2 separate regions of the Homo sapiens genome follow, and region 1 is linked to region 2. Evidence: promoter capture Hi-C in human tissues and cell types (Jung and others, 2019). All regions are on one chromosome and are shown on one strand. Each heading gives the region's core, a stretch centred on a gene start or on the middle of the fragment in contact. The rest is flanking DNA. Distances are from core to core; before and after follow the strand shown.

What was found. The method cuts DNA at HindIII sites, captures the fragments that hold promoters and counts their contacts. A contact is called where the count stands out against the background at its distance.
Region 1: a contact is called between a fragment that was not itself captured here and the fragment with the promoter of MTNR1B in region 2, in 1 of the 25 tissues and cell types used here (mesendoderm cells).

Annotation. Positions count from the first base shown.
Region 1 is chr11:93,154,185-93,160,638 of GRCh38, reverse strand. SLC36A4 (solute carrier family 36 member 4) reads left to right here. Exons shown (of 11, transcript NM_152313.4): 10 at 6,362-6,454. Among named protein-coding and RNA genes, the nearest start is that of SLC36A4, 41 kb to the left of the region's middle. The HindIII fragment of the contact is 4,868 bases long and covers 2,267-6,454 here.
Region 2 is chr11:92,967,945-92,973,919 of GRCh38, reverse strand. MTNR1B (melatonin receptor 1B) reads right to left here and starts at 4,269. Exons shown (of 2, transcript NM_005959.5): 1 at 3,972-4,269. The coding sequence starts at 4,194. LOC124902733 (a long non-coding RNA gene) reads right to left here. Exons shown (of 2, transcript XR_007062838.1): 2 at 5,005-5,975. RefSeq lists an enhancer at 3,222-3,721. The HindIII fragment of the contact is 7,785 bases long and covers 1-5,975 here.

The DNA.
Region 1 (6,454 bases), core at 3,451-5,950, 190 kb before region 2:
CACATAAGAATGTGGTGTAGAAATAGTGGGCGAGAATAAGACAGAATGCTTTTGGTATTCACAACTCAATCTTGGAGGGTGACACTGTCCCTGCAGTAGCTCCAATTAATCCTTCCCTTTTCCCACAGCCCCTTTCTACATCTGACCTTATTCCTAATTGCTGTGACTTTCCAATTAGAATGGAACTAGTTGAGACTCTTGATTTAAAAGGGACCATTAGATCATAGTTTCTATTCAAGGAAGTCTAGCTAGACACCACCTTTCATTAGAGGAAACCCTAGTACAAGTATCCTAAGAAACAACAAAAATCTGGAAAAAACAGGAAAGCCAGTCAAGACACATATTTCCCTTTAGAGAATTTGCATTGGTTAATGCCTTTGCACTGTGGAGATATGCCCTATGCAGCCTATAGTCTGTTTCTGTGTGGACTCTGCAGTTGTGGGACAATTAAAATAATAGTCACAACTGAGGAATACAAGAGAAGAGTTGCTTGTCTTTTTACAGTCATGGCATTCTGTAAAGTGAGAAGTTTGGACTAGAATAATCATGGGATTACATTTAAGATTTCTTTCTTAATATACTATATACGAGTCTCTCTTTCACTTCTTTCCTGTGCTTCACACAAGAGGCCTCGAAAGTTAGAGATTGTGCAGTGTACTCTATTGGCAGAGTATGAAAGCCAATGACTGTTACAAGAGTATCCTAGAGAACTAATGGCTACTAGCTATGAAAAGCTGTAAAGGGCTTTTGGTACAGATTGGCAAAGTCTCAGAGTATATTAGGGTTATTTCTGCAAGAAAAGATTGAATTAGAAAGAGGCCATAGGATAAAGCAAGTATGGATTAGAGAAGCTCCAAGTTATTATTACCCTTAATCTTTCTGAACTGTCATCTTTGAAAATTAGTTATGAGTAATACTGTACATGTATTGCATTTAGCTTTTGAAGTAAAGAATGTATTTTAAAGGTTTTACTAGTTCAAGGCATTCAATCTAGTGATAAATGCTACATAACCATAGTTGTCTTAGTTTTTAGCCTAGAATGAGATGAGGCTCTTGGCAAGGATTGCAGATAGTTCTCAATTAAGATGACTTCTTGACAGAGCTAAATCCTCAAGATTCTCAGCCTGAGCATCATGAAGGATCCAAGAGGGAAAGTGCCTTACCAGGTTATTTCTAACGGTAGCTTCTGTATTCAACCTTGAGAGACAGAGAAGCAGTCACCAACTTATTTCCCAAGTTGGTTTTTAAAAAATTTTAAGTTATTCATACCTGAAGGTTGACTTATTAGCCAATGTGGGGAAAAGAATAAAAGCATTATAAATTTTGATATTCTATGTTTTCAAAACTAATATTTTCACTGGAACATTAAGTTGTTTTCTCCCTATAATCTGATTCAATATATTGGCTGAAAAATAATTATTAAAAATACATTTCTGTCCTTTACTAAGGTATTAAATTCTTTACTATCATTATAATAGATTTTGTTTCCAAGCATAAATCATTTTATTCTTTGAAGTGCTATTAATATTTTTCATGTTGAATGGTTGTAGTTTCTAAGAATTACCTATCCATATCTATTTTGATAATTAATATTTAATAAGTATCAATCACCTATTAATACTAAGTGCATTGAAGGGATATACAGAGAAGAATTAGTCTGTAACTCTCAGGAGCTTTGGCAGCGAGGAGTTTTAAAAGACCTTTTAATGTACACTAAATGTTGTTTAAAGTTGTTTGATGTTTTTTGTACCCTCAAAACAAATTCCTGTGACTTTAAGAAAGTTTATTATTCTTTAGAAAGAGGGTTTACTGGGTAGATTTTTCCTTTCAATGTTCTTCATTTCTAAAACGTAGTACAAAAGAAGCCTTACAATAGATGCTGCTTAAAACCAAAATGAAGAAAAGGTTGTGATAATAGCTATACAAAAGTTGTAGAGAAAAATAGTTTAAAGTGATTGAAAATATAGATTCCAAACATAGAAATAAGTGGGTTCTTGAAACAGAAAAGGAGTAGGAGTGAAACAGTTCATATTAAACTGTGGCACTTTTTAAAGATGCCCTCTTGTTTCTATATAACTATTCTTTTGTTGATTAGTAGATATACCAACTTCTAAAAGATCCACACCATTTTATTTCCCATTTTTACTCTTTGTAACACCAAATAGTAATATTTGCATATAATTAACGATATTAATAATAACCAGATTCTTAGCCGATGTGACTTTGTCAATAAAAAAGTAATAGTACTTACATGCAAAATGATGTATTTTTATTTTAAAAAATGTTAAATATATTATTACCACATTTTAAAAATACATAAGTGAAAAGATAATTAATTAGAAAAAGGAATGTCCTGTTAAACTAATTAACTAACAAGAATATTTGTTTAATTATCCACAGTTACATATCAGAGTATAGGAAACACGTGTCTTTCAGTTATGTGGTATATATTTGGTAACTTGACCATTTATGTGTAACCTTTAAGCCTCAAGCTGAGAAATACATCCTTAGCTAATTTTTAAAATTAAGTTTTAAATGTTGTTAGCTCTAAGGAGTTCTTTCCTTCCTAATTGTGATGTGTATCTTCAAATCTGTTTTTATTCAGCTCTTAAATTTCTTCTTACTCTTGTATGATAAATATGTTATAGCAGAATACTATTGAATCTCTTCTTGCTTGGCCATAGTTTACAGGCTGTTTATAATCCTTATTACTCTCACCACTTCTGTTCAACATAGTATTGGAAGTCCTGGCCAGAGCAATCAGGCAAGAGAAAGAAACAAAGGGCATCCAAATAGGAAGAACTGCAAGATCTGCAAACTATCCCTGTTTTCAGATGACATGATCCTATATCTCGAAAACCCCATAGTAAGCCCAAAGGCTTCTTAAGCTGATAAGCAACTTCAGCAAAGTCTCAAGCTGCAAAATCAATGTGCAAAAAACATCAACATTTCTATACACCAATAACAGTCAAGCTGAGAGCCAAATCTTTATGTGGCAATTGTGAATGGTATTGTGTTGCCACAATTCACAATTGCCACATAAAGAATAAAATACCTAGGGATACAGCTAACCAGGGATGTGAAAGATCTCTACAACAAGAATTACAAAACACTGCTCAGAGAAATCAGAGATGACACAAACAAATGGAAAAACATTCCATGCTCATGGATAGGAAGAATCAATATCATAAAAATAGCCACACTGCCCAAAGCAATTTATAGTTTTAATGCTATTCCTATTAAACTGCCATTGACATTCTTCACAGAACTAGAAAAAACTATTTTAAAATTCATGTGGAACCAGAAATGAGCCTGAAGGGTCAAGGCAGTCCTCAGCAAAAAGAACAAAGCTGGAGGCATCACACTACCCAACTCTAAACTATACGAGAGGGCTGTAGTAACCAAAACAGCATTGTACTGGAACAAAAACAGACACATAGACCAATGGAACAGAATAGAGAGCCCAGAAGTAAGGCCACACACCTGCAACTATTTGATCTTTGAAAAACCTGACAAAAACAAGCAATGGGGAAAGGATTCGCTATTCAATAAATGGTGCTAGGATAACCAGCCAGCCATATGGGATAGACTGAACTGGACCCCTTCCTTACACCATATACAAAAAATTAACTCAAGATGGAGTAAAGGCTTAAATGTGAAACCCCAGACTATAAAAACCCTGGAAGAAAATACCATTCTGGACATAGGAATGGGCAAAGATTTTATGATGAAGACTCCAAAAGCAATTGCAACAAAAGTGAAAATTGACAAATGGGATCTAATTAAACTAAAGAGCTTCTGCACAGCACAGAAAACTATCAACAGAGTGAACAGGCAACCTACAGAATGGAAGAAAATTTTTGCAAACTATGCATTGAACAAAGGTCTAATATCCAGCATTTAAAGGAACTTCAAGAAATTTATAAGAAAAGAATCTCATTAAAAAGTGGGCAAAGGGCTTGGGAGGCCAAGGCGGGCAGATCACAAGGTTAGGAGTTTGAGACCAGCCTGGCCAATATGGTGAAACCCCATCTCTACTAAAAATACAAAAATTAGCCAGGTGTGGTGGCAGGCGCCTGTAGTCCCAGCTACTTGGGAGGTTGAGGCAGGAGAATCGCTTGAACTGGGGAGGTGGAGGTTGCAGTGAGCTAAGATTGAGCTGCTGCACTCCAGCCTGGGCAACAGAGTGAGACTCCACCCCAAAAAAAAAGAAAAAAAAAAGTGGGCAAAGGACGTGAACAGACACTTCTCAAAAGAAGACATACATGCCGCCAACAGTCATATGAAAAAAAAATGCTCAACATTACTGATCATTAGAGAAATGCAAATCAAAACCACAGTGTGATACCATCCCACACTTGTCAGAATGGCTATTACTAAAAAGTCGAAAAATAACATGCTAGTGAGCTTATGGAGAAAAAGGAACAACACTTATTATAAACTGTTGATGGGAGTATAAGTTAGTTCAAGACATTGTGGAAGACAGTGTGGCGATGCCTCAAAGACCTTAAAACAGAAATGTCATTTGATCCAGTAGTCCCATTACTGGGTTTATACCCAAAGAAATATAAATCATTCTATTAGAAAAACACATAAATACCTTTGTTCATTGCAGCACTTTTCACAATAGCAAAGATACGGAATTAACCTAAATGCCTGTCAGTGATAGATTGGATAAAGAAGATGTGGTACATATACATCATGGAATACTATGCAGCCATAAAAAAGAATGAGATAATGTTCTTTGTAGGAACATGGATGGAGCTGGAGGTCATTACCCTTAGCAAACTAACATGGGAACAGAAAACCAAATACCACATATTCTTACTTATAAGTGGGAGCTAAATGATGAAAACGCGGACACATGGAGGGGAACAACACACACTGGGGCCTATTGAGGGTGAAGGGTGTGAGGAGGGAGAGGATCAGAAAAAATAACCAATGGGTACTAGGCTTAATACCTGAGTGATGAAATAATCTGTACAACAAGCCCCCATGACACAAATTTACCTATATAACCTGCACATGTACCCCTGAACTTTAAAAGTCAAATTAAAAAATCCTTACTACTTTAAGTCTTAAGACATCAGAAATAAAGCTCCATTAATGTCGACATTTATATACTTATATATTAAGTACATTTATACTTAAAGCTTCATTAATGTCAAGGTTTATATACCTTGACATTATATACCAAAAGTAGAATATAATCCTTTTAAAATGATTGCATTTTTTTGTAAGAAAGAAAACACTCTTCCCTGTGCATGGGAATTTTAGGTGGGAAAGTAGAACTCTTAAATGAGAAAACCGTGGGAAGATGTTTCTGCTGAAAGAGGACATATGTGTTAATCACTGCCCCGAAGTTGCAGCACACTGAACCCACAGTGTTTTCTCTGCTTTGTTACTTAAAAAATGCAAGATGGTTGGGTTTTTCTTTTGAATTTTATAAAATATTAAAATGTTTTTTTAAATACAGCATATTAATTTTATTATTCTGCAACCCTAAAGAGTGGATTCTGTAATGTTTCTTCCTCTAGGTCCTACAATTCTGTTTTCTCTTCATGTCATTAACGTTTAAAAAGTCTTCTTTTTCTGGGCTTAAGAAAGTTACTGAAGTCTTTATCAAGACATGCATGCGAAGTTTTGACAGGAGGTTATCCATAATGTAGAAATCTAAAGATATTTATAAAACTGAAAATTGCTGTGCTGTTTTGAAGCACTGTATATCAAAGAGATAAGTTAATTTGCCCAAAAGAATAACAACAACCTTACCCAGCAACTGTATGTCTCTTATTTAATGTAATTTTAAACAATAGATTGTATGTGTAATTTAGAGAACTTAGCAAGTTGAAACCGTTTAGATGTCTGCTTTTAGACTTAAGATGGATGACATTTCTGCAACTGATGACATACCTCCAAAGATTTTCACCCAAGAACTATACTTAAGTTTAATGTGAGTTTTTCTTCTATGTAAAGATCAACGAGGGTATGACTCAGGATTTAAGACATATAGTAGGCTCAGTTTTTAAAAAGAAAGTTGAGAAAACTTTAGCTCTTTGAGGGGCTGAGTCTAACCTTCAGAATATTGGCTTATCCCAAAGTGAAATCTTTTTACCACTATACCCTAAACCCTGGCATGCATGTTCAAGCTTTCCAGTCTTGTGAAAATGAATTGTTCTTGTATCATCTAGAAATTTAGTTAGAGATCAATTTGCCTTTTTTACAAACAAGCATTTTTAGTTAGTAAGGTTCTGGCCTAATTTGGTATTCTGGATTTCTTATTTATCTTAATATTAAAAATAAAGGAGGAAAACTAAATTCACATTAAAAATGACTAAATTTTGAAAATTTTTTTCAACAGGTTATATCAATCAGTGAAAATTCTATATTCCTTTGGCATTTTTGTGACATATTCAATTCAGTTCTATGTTCCAGCAGAGATCATTATCCCTGG
Region 2 (5,975 bases), core at 3,020-5,519:
CTGAGGTCTATCCCAGCTCATGGAGCAAAATCAATTAATTTTCCCCCACTACCTGGTGTCTTATCCATTTCCAATTTAATCAGAGATGTGTTCTGTTCTTACTATGTGTCTGGCTCTGTGGACAGAAACTGAATGAAAGTGTCTGCTCTCAGCAGGTACACGGTCCAGCGGGGAGAGACAAAGAACAATAGTACAGTGAGGGGGATGCTGTACTGGGGAGGGCACAGGTATCTTAGAAGCCCAACAAGGGAGACACTTACTATCCCCTTCATGGTATTAATAATCAACATTGATAATCCTTCAGGGGAGTTGGGGAAGGAGTTGAAGGAGGAGCAGCTGTTGACTGGGCAGAAGAGGTAGAGAAAGTACATCAGGGAGTGCAGACCCTTTGGGAAGTAGCAGCAGCTCACTGTGACACTGGTGAGAGGAGGGCAATGAGGCTGTAAGTTAGGTGGGCTAGGCCAGCCGCAAATGGCCGTGGGAGCTGTGCTCTGGAGTTGGACACTGTTCTGGAGATGGAGGGCAGCCACTGAAGACAGGGAAACTCTTGGCAGTGGTAACAGTGGCTGGGGGAGGGAGCAGGAAAAGCTCTCAAGCACTATGGATAGTGTTTGCTCAAGAGATGATGAAGGCATGAAGTGGGGCAGTAAGAATAAGGAGGCAGGAAAGGGAGAAATTGAGAAATAGTGGAAGGTAAAATCATTAGGACATGTGGAATGAAAGAGTAGGAGGAACCAAAGATGACTTTCAGGGCACAGGTATCCGGGAGATGAAGAGAAAAAGGAGATCCAAAAACTAGCACCAGGTTAGCCGAGGGAATGAAAGGTCCCACAGAGGGAGTGGCCCTCAGTGTCACACACAGCACAGAGGAACATTTCCAGAGAATGGCGCCCAGAGGACTGAGGAAGGACGGGAAGCAATGGGGTAGAACCAGTAGATGTCCACAACTACATTAAAATGTCTGGCTGAAAAGGGAGGGAGAGAGGTAGTGATGAAGTTAGGAGGACATGAAGTCAAGAAAAGAGTCTTTTGTTCTTTTAAAACAGGAGACTTTGTGTATCGTGTGTGTGTGTAACATGGAGGAAGTTTCCAGAAGAGAGAAAGGAAGAGCTCAAAAATGCAAGAGATAAATATTAGCGAGGTGTAGCTCAAGGGTCAGGGCAGCAGTGGTGAGCCCAGGAGGGAAAGTTCTCAACGGCTCTCAGTAGAGTCAAAAGTGTGGCAAGTCCCTGGGAAGCACAATCTGACAGGCGTGAGGTGCCAACCCAGTGCCATGGGCTGTGCAAGACTCTGAGAATGTAGCAAAGAGTGAACACACTTGGCCTTACCTTTTAAGTTGGGTCGGTGCCCTGACCCTACCTCCCACCTTGCCTCCACTCCTCCCTGTCTGCCTTTCTCTGGTGCTATCTCTGAAGTCAACCCACCACATGCAGCAACAGACACTACAGATAGGATATCCCTGAAAAAAAAAAGACAATTAATCTAACCACTCACCCTGCCATCAGGAGCGGCACTGTTAGGAATGATACAGATCTGCTCCATAGAGGAACTGGGTTTGTGATAGGCAAGTAAAGGATACTGGTGTCTCCTGGGAAACATGCTGTGACCTCAATATGGGCTATGTATCTTGGTTATTGGAAATATATGTATTCTCATTGTTACAGACTTAATTTTTTAATACCAATGATTTAAGGAGCCAGACTTAAGTACAGAAAGGTCTGAAGAAGCGTTTCTTAAATTAAATCCAAACTCTTCAGTAAGACAAGGCCTGATTAAGAGTAGAATGTGTGCTAACTATTCAAAGAGCTGTAGGTTTTAAGCGCCTTTTGAAATCTCACTCTGCTGAGATCATTTAGTTCAAGTCAGTACTACAATTGTTTGTGACTGTCACCAATAAAGCCAGAGGTCACATAAGAACTGGTTAAATTGCAAGACTGCAGCAGTGGCAGGAATTGATGTCATTTAGATATAGTGTTATTATTATTTTTTTTTGTTCGGGTGCTGGGCTGTAGCGGACACATCAGGAGGTAGGAAAGATAGAACAGAGGATATGCCAGCAATTTAACATGCTCATGACCCTCCCCAGTGATGCTCTTAAACTGGTTAGGTTTCTGCAGACCCTGCCAGGATCACAGAAAAGGCCAGCCCTCTGTAGGATGCAGGAGGGGAGGGGTGCTTTTCTCCTTCCAGCAAAAGGAAGCAACTCCTACTTCCCTCAACCACCTTTCTCATGGTGGGCAATCCAAATTACTGAGCAGGGAGCCATGGCCTGACAGACCTGCTCTAAATACTCAATAAGTCAGGGACAGAAGGGGCCAATGTCAGAACCAGGAGGACCCATTTCTCCCCCATAGAGCCAGGAGTTGTCTCCCTTTTGCTTCCCTGTGCTGGAAATGAATGTTTATGATGGCTGCAAGGGACAATGTGTCAAAAATATTAAATGCAGTTTTCTAATCATAACCTGTTTTTCCCTAATATATAAGCTTTTCTTCAAAGGACACAATATTTTGAACAATGTATTCCAGAAAACAGCCACCACTACTGAAGTGAGTTAGAAAGTTTACTTCTTCTTAATAATGTTATGTTTCCCATATGATGGCTGGATACTCACAGTTGGAGGAGTTTCTTGTTTGTTTTTTTAGCTAAAAATCCTAGAGTTGGCCGGGCGCAGTGGCTCATGCCTGTAATTCCAGCACTTTGGGAGGCCGAGGCGGGTGGATCACTTGAGGTCAGGAGTTCGAGACCAGCCTGGCCAACATGGTGAAATACTGTGTCTACCAAAAATATAAAAAATTACCTGGGTGTAGTGGCGAGCGCCTGTAATCCCAGCTACTCGGGAGGCTGAGGCAAGAGAATCCCTTGAACCTGGGAGGCAGAGGTTGCAGTGAGCCTAGACCATGCCACTGCACTCCAGCCTGGGTGACAGAGTGAGAGACTCCATCTCAAAAAAAAAAAATTTCTAGAGTCACAGGCCACACCAAATACATATTACTATTTGCTAAAAATGGTCTGACTCCTTAGAAAAGCATTTTTAAGCTATATGGTTGTTTTACTGCTGCTATCTTTCCATTTTAATTCACTCTAATATTTGAATTTGCTCCCAAGGCCCAACTTGAAGAAACTGCAAAATTAACAAACAGGTGACTGAGCTCCTTCCTAAGCTGAAGTGGTCATCATGCCCCATGACCTGTGAGGGCTAGAGTTCAGATACTGCCCCCCACTCTGGTTTTGTTTCTTTGAAGACCTGACTAGGGGAATATTGAAATGAGAGTGGATTGAAATAGGAAAAATATTTTCAGGATTACAACACGATTTAGCCAAATCATTGCTTTAATTTTCACAGTTAATCCCAGGAATTCCCAGTCTTCGGAAAAGACCACAATATTTCAAAGCAATTTAGTTCAGTCCAAGCAGAATCTGCAATTTCTGCATTTACTCTCCGTCAACTGGAATTGGGTCTTCAGATGACCTGGAGATAAGTTTTTGACACAAAACCTACTGAAATGCTTCCATTGATTAACTCATTTTTTCAGCAAGGATTTTCTAAGCGACTACTACATAAAGCTACAGTGCTTGGCAAGGAAGGAAGTGGGATGTCAAGTACAGGTGGTGAGATTTCTGTGGCCTGATGTGGGCACCTCTGGAAAGACACGCATTGGAGCGCGACGGGGTAGCGATGGCATCCAGCAGCGTGGGTTCCCACAGCGCCGGCGCCCGGCCAAAAAGCGCGCCAGTAAAACTTTCCGCAATTCCCTCTGTGCCAAGCGCGTCCTGGGCAGCCGCACTTCGGAGGGGCAAAACTCACCCTAACTTTTGAGTGCAGAGTCAAACTTAAGGAATAGGTTAGAGTGAAGGGAAAGGGGAGCCCGGGCTGAGGAGGGAAAAGGCAGCGCATATCCCGGGGTCAGGGACAAGATCAGAAGACAAGGAAGGGCCCGATGCCAGCACCCAGCATCAGGAATGGTGCTCACCTGCGTTCCGGAGCTTGCGGTTCCTGAGCACGGAGAGGATCACCAGGAGGTTGCCCACGACGTCCACGGCGGTGGTGACGATGAGCACCGCGGACAGCGCTGGAGCCACCCAGGGAGGTCGAGGGGTCCTGGAGGGCCGCGCGCTGCCAGCCCCCGACCAGCCCGGGCGCACTGCCCACCCGCCCGCCTCGCAGCAGTTGGCGAAGGAGCCGTTCTCTGACATCGCAGACTCTCCCGCGCTGTGCTTTGGCCACCGCGCGGCCCCGGACAGCCGCAGGGCGCGCGCAGTACTGAGCCGGGCGCTCTCTTCCCTGCCCAGCTCGCGTGTGCAAGGGAGGAGGCCAGTGGGGAGGGGTCTGGAGGAGATAACTAATTAAGCGTGGGCAGGGGATGGAGAAAAATATAGGAATGGGAGGAGGACTTGGGGTGCAGCCGTTGTAGAAGGGAGTGCGTCCCTCAGCGGTGCGCTCAGGAACAGCTGGGACCGCACAGCTGTCTCTGCCACCCCGAGCCCAGCAGGTGCCTGGCCCACCTCAGGCTGCGGAGCGCGTCTAGCTTCTGTCCCTGAGTATATAGCCACACCCGAGACCCCGATTTCCTCCACAGCGTCCCCAAGAGAAGCTGTGTCTAGGTAGGGACGTCCAACCCAGGTTGATAGACTGGAGAAGGTGCTGATGGTAGGGACCTCCCATCAGTTGTCAAGAAAGGCAAGGTTTGACGTCCCATAGGGCTGTGCAGCCCGAAAGAGAATGCAACTCCTAAGATGTGGGGACAGAGCCCAGAACAAAGTAGGGTAGACTGTTATATTCTAGGGAGCTGCAGAAAAATACGAACCTAGCCATTTTCCAAGCACTCGCTGGGTATTGTGGGGGGCATTGATGATGTCTCTACTGGGTCCTCTTTATAAAGCCAATACTTTAACATATTTACCAACATATATTTACACATAATACTTAAATAGATGTATGGCCAATATTGGGGGTTATGATGTGGTTTTTGGAGGGGTTAGGACAAGAAGAAGATTGAGGCATGATTACAATAAAGAAGGAACTCAGGTGCCCTTTATTAAAAATGTTTGAGTCGTGATCTGGTGATAATAATAATAGATAACTTCTAATGGGGGCTAATCTTATGACCCCAAAGCACTTTTCACACCCATTAGAATCACTAAAATCAAAATGACTGATTATCCTATATTTGTGGAGGAAGTTAAGCAACCAGAACCCTCATACACTGCTTTTATGAGAATGCAAAATGGTATAGCCACTTTGAAGAGCTGTCTGTTAGCTCCTAATAAAGTTAAATATACACCTATTCTATGACCAGAAGTTCCAAATGAAAAGGAAAGTATATTTCCACCAAAAGACCTGTACAAGAATGTCCAGAGCAGCCTTGTTTATAGGAGCTCAAATCTGGTAACACCTGCAATTTCCACCAACAGAAGAATGGATAAGCAAATTATGGTATGACCTTGCAATGGAATACTACTCAGCAATAAAGATGATTGACCTACACAACAGCATGGATTAATCACAAATATGTTGTATTGAACAAAAGAAGCCAGATACCAAAAAATATATACCATATTATTCCAGTTATAGGAAGTCCAAAATCAGGGAAAATTAATCTATTTTCTAATAGAAATCAGAAAAGTGGTTACATTTGAGGGTGGGTATTGAGAAACAAACACCAAAAAATTTCTGGATTGTTATTTTTACATATGTTATTTTACGTAAGTTATATTGCCCCTCTCCTTTAAAGGGGGGAAAAAAAGAAGGAAGGATGCAGTGGAGACGGAGGGGCTGATGATGCAGAGGCATGAGTGGATGTTGAAGGGAAGGGAGAGGGAAGGGAGAGGTGAAGTGAGCTCATCCTTGAAGTGAGCTAATCCAGAACTCCTTAAAGTGAGCTCATCCAAAACCCAAGGAAGAAATATTATTTGTTAGGAGAGGGAGGCTTTCTTTCTTGTAGTAGAAAGGAATCAGAAGCCAGATGCAAATTCAG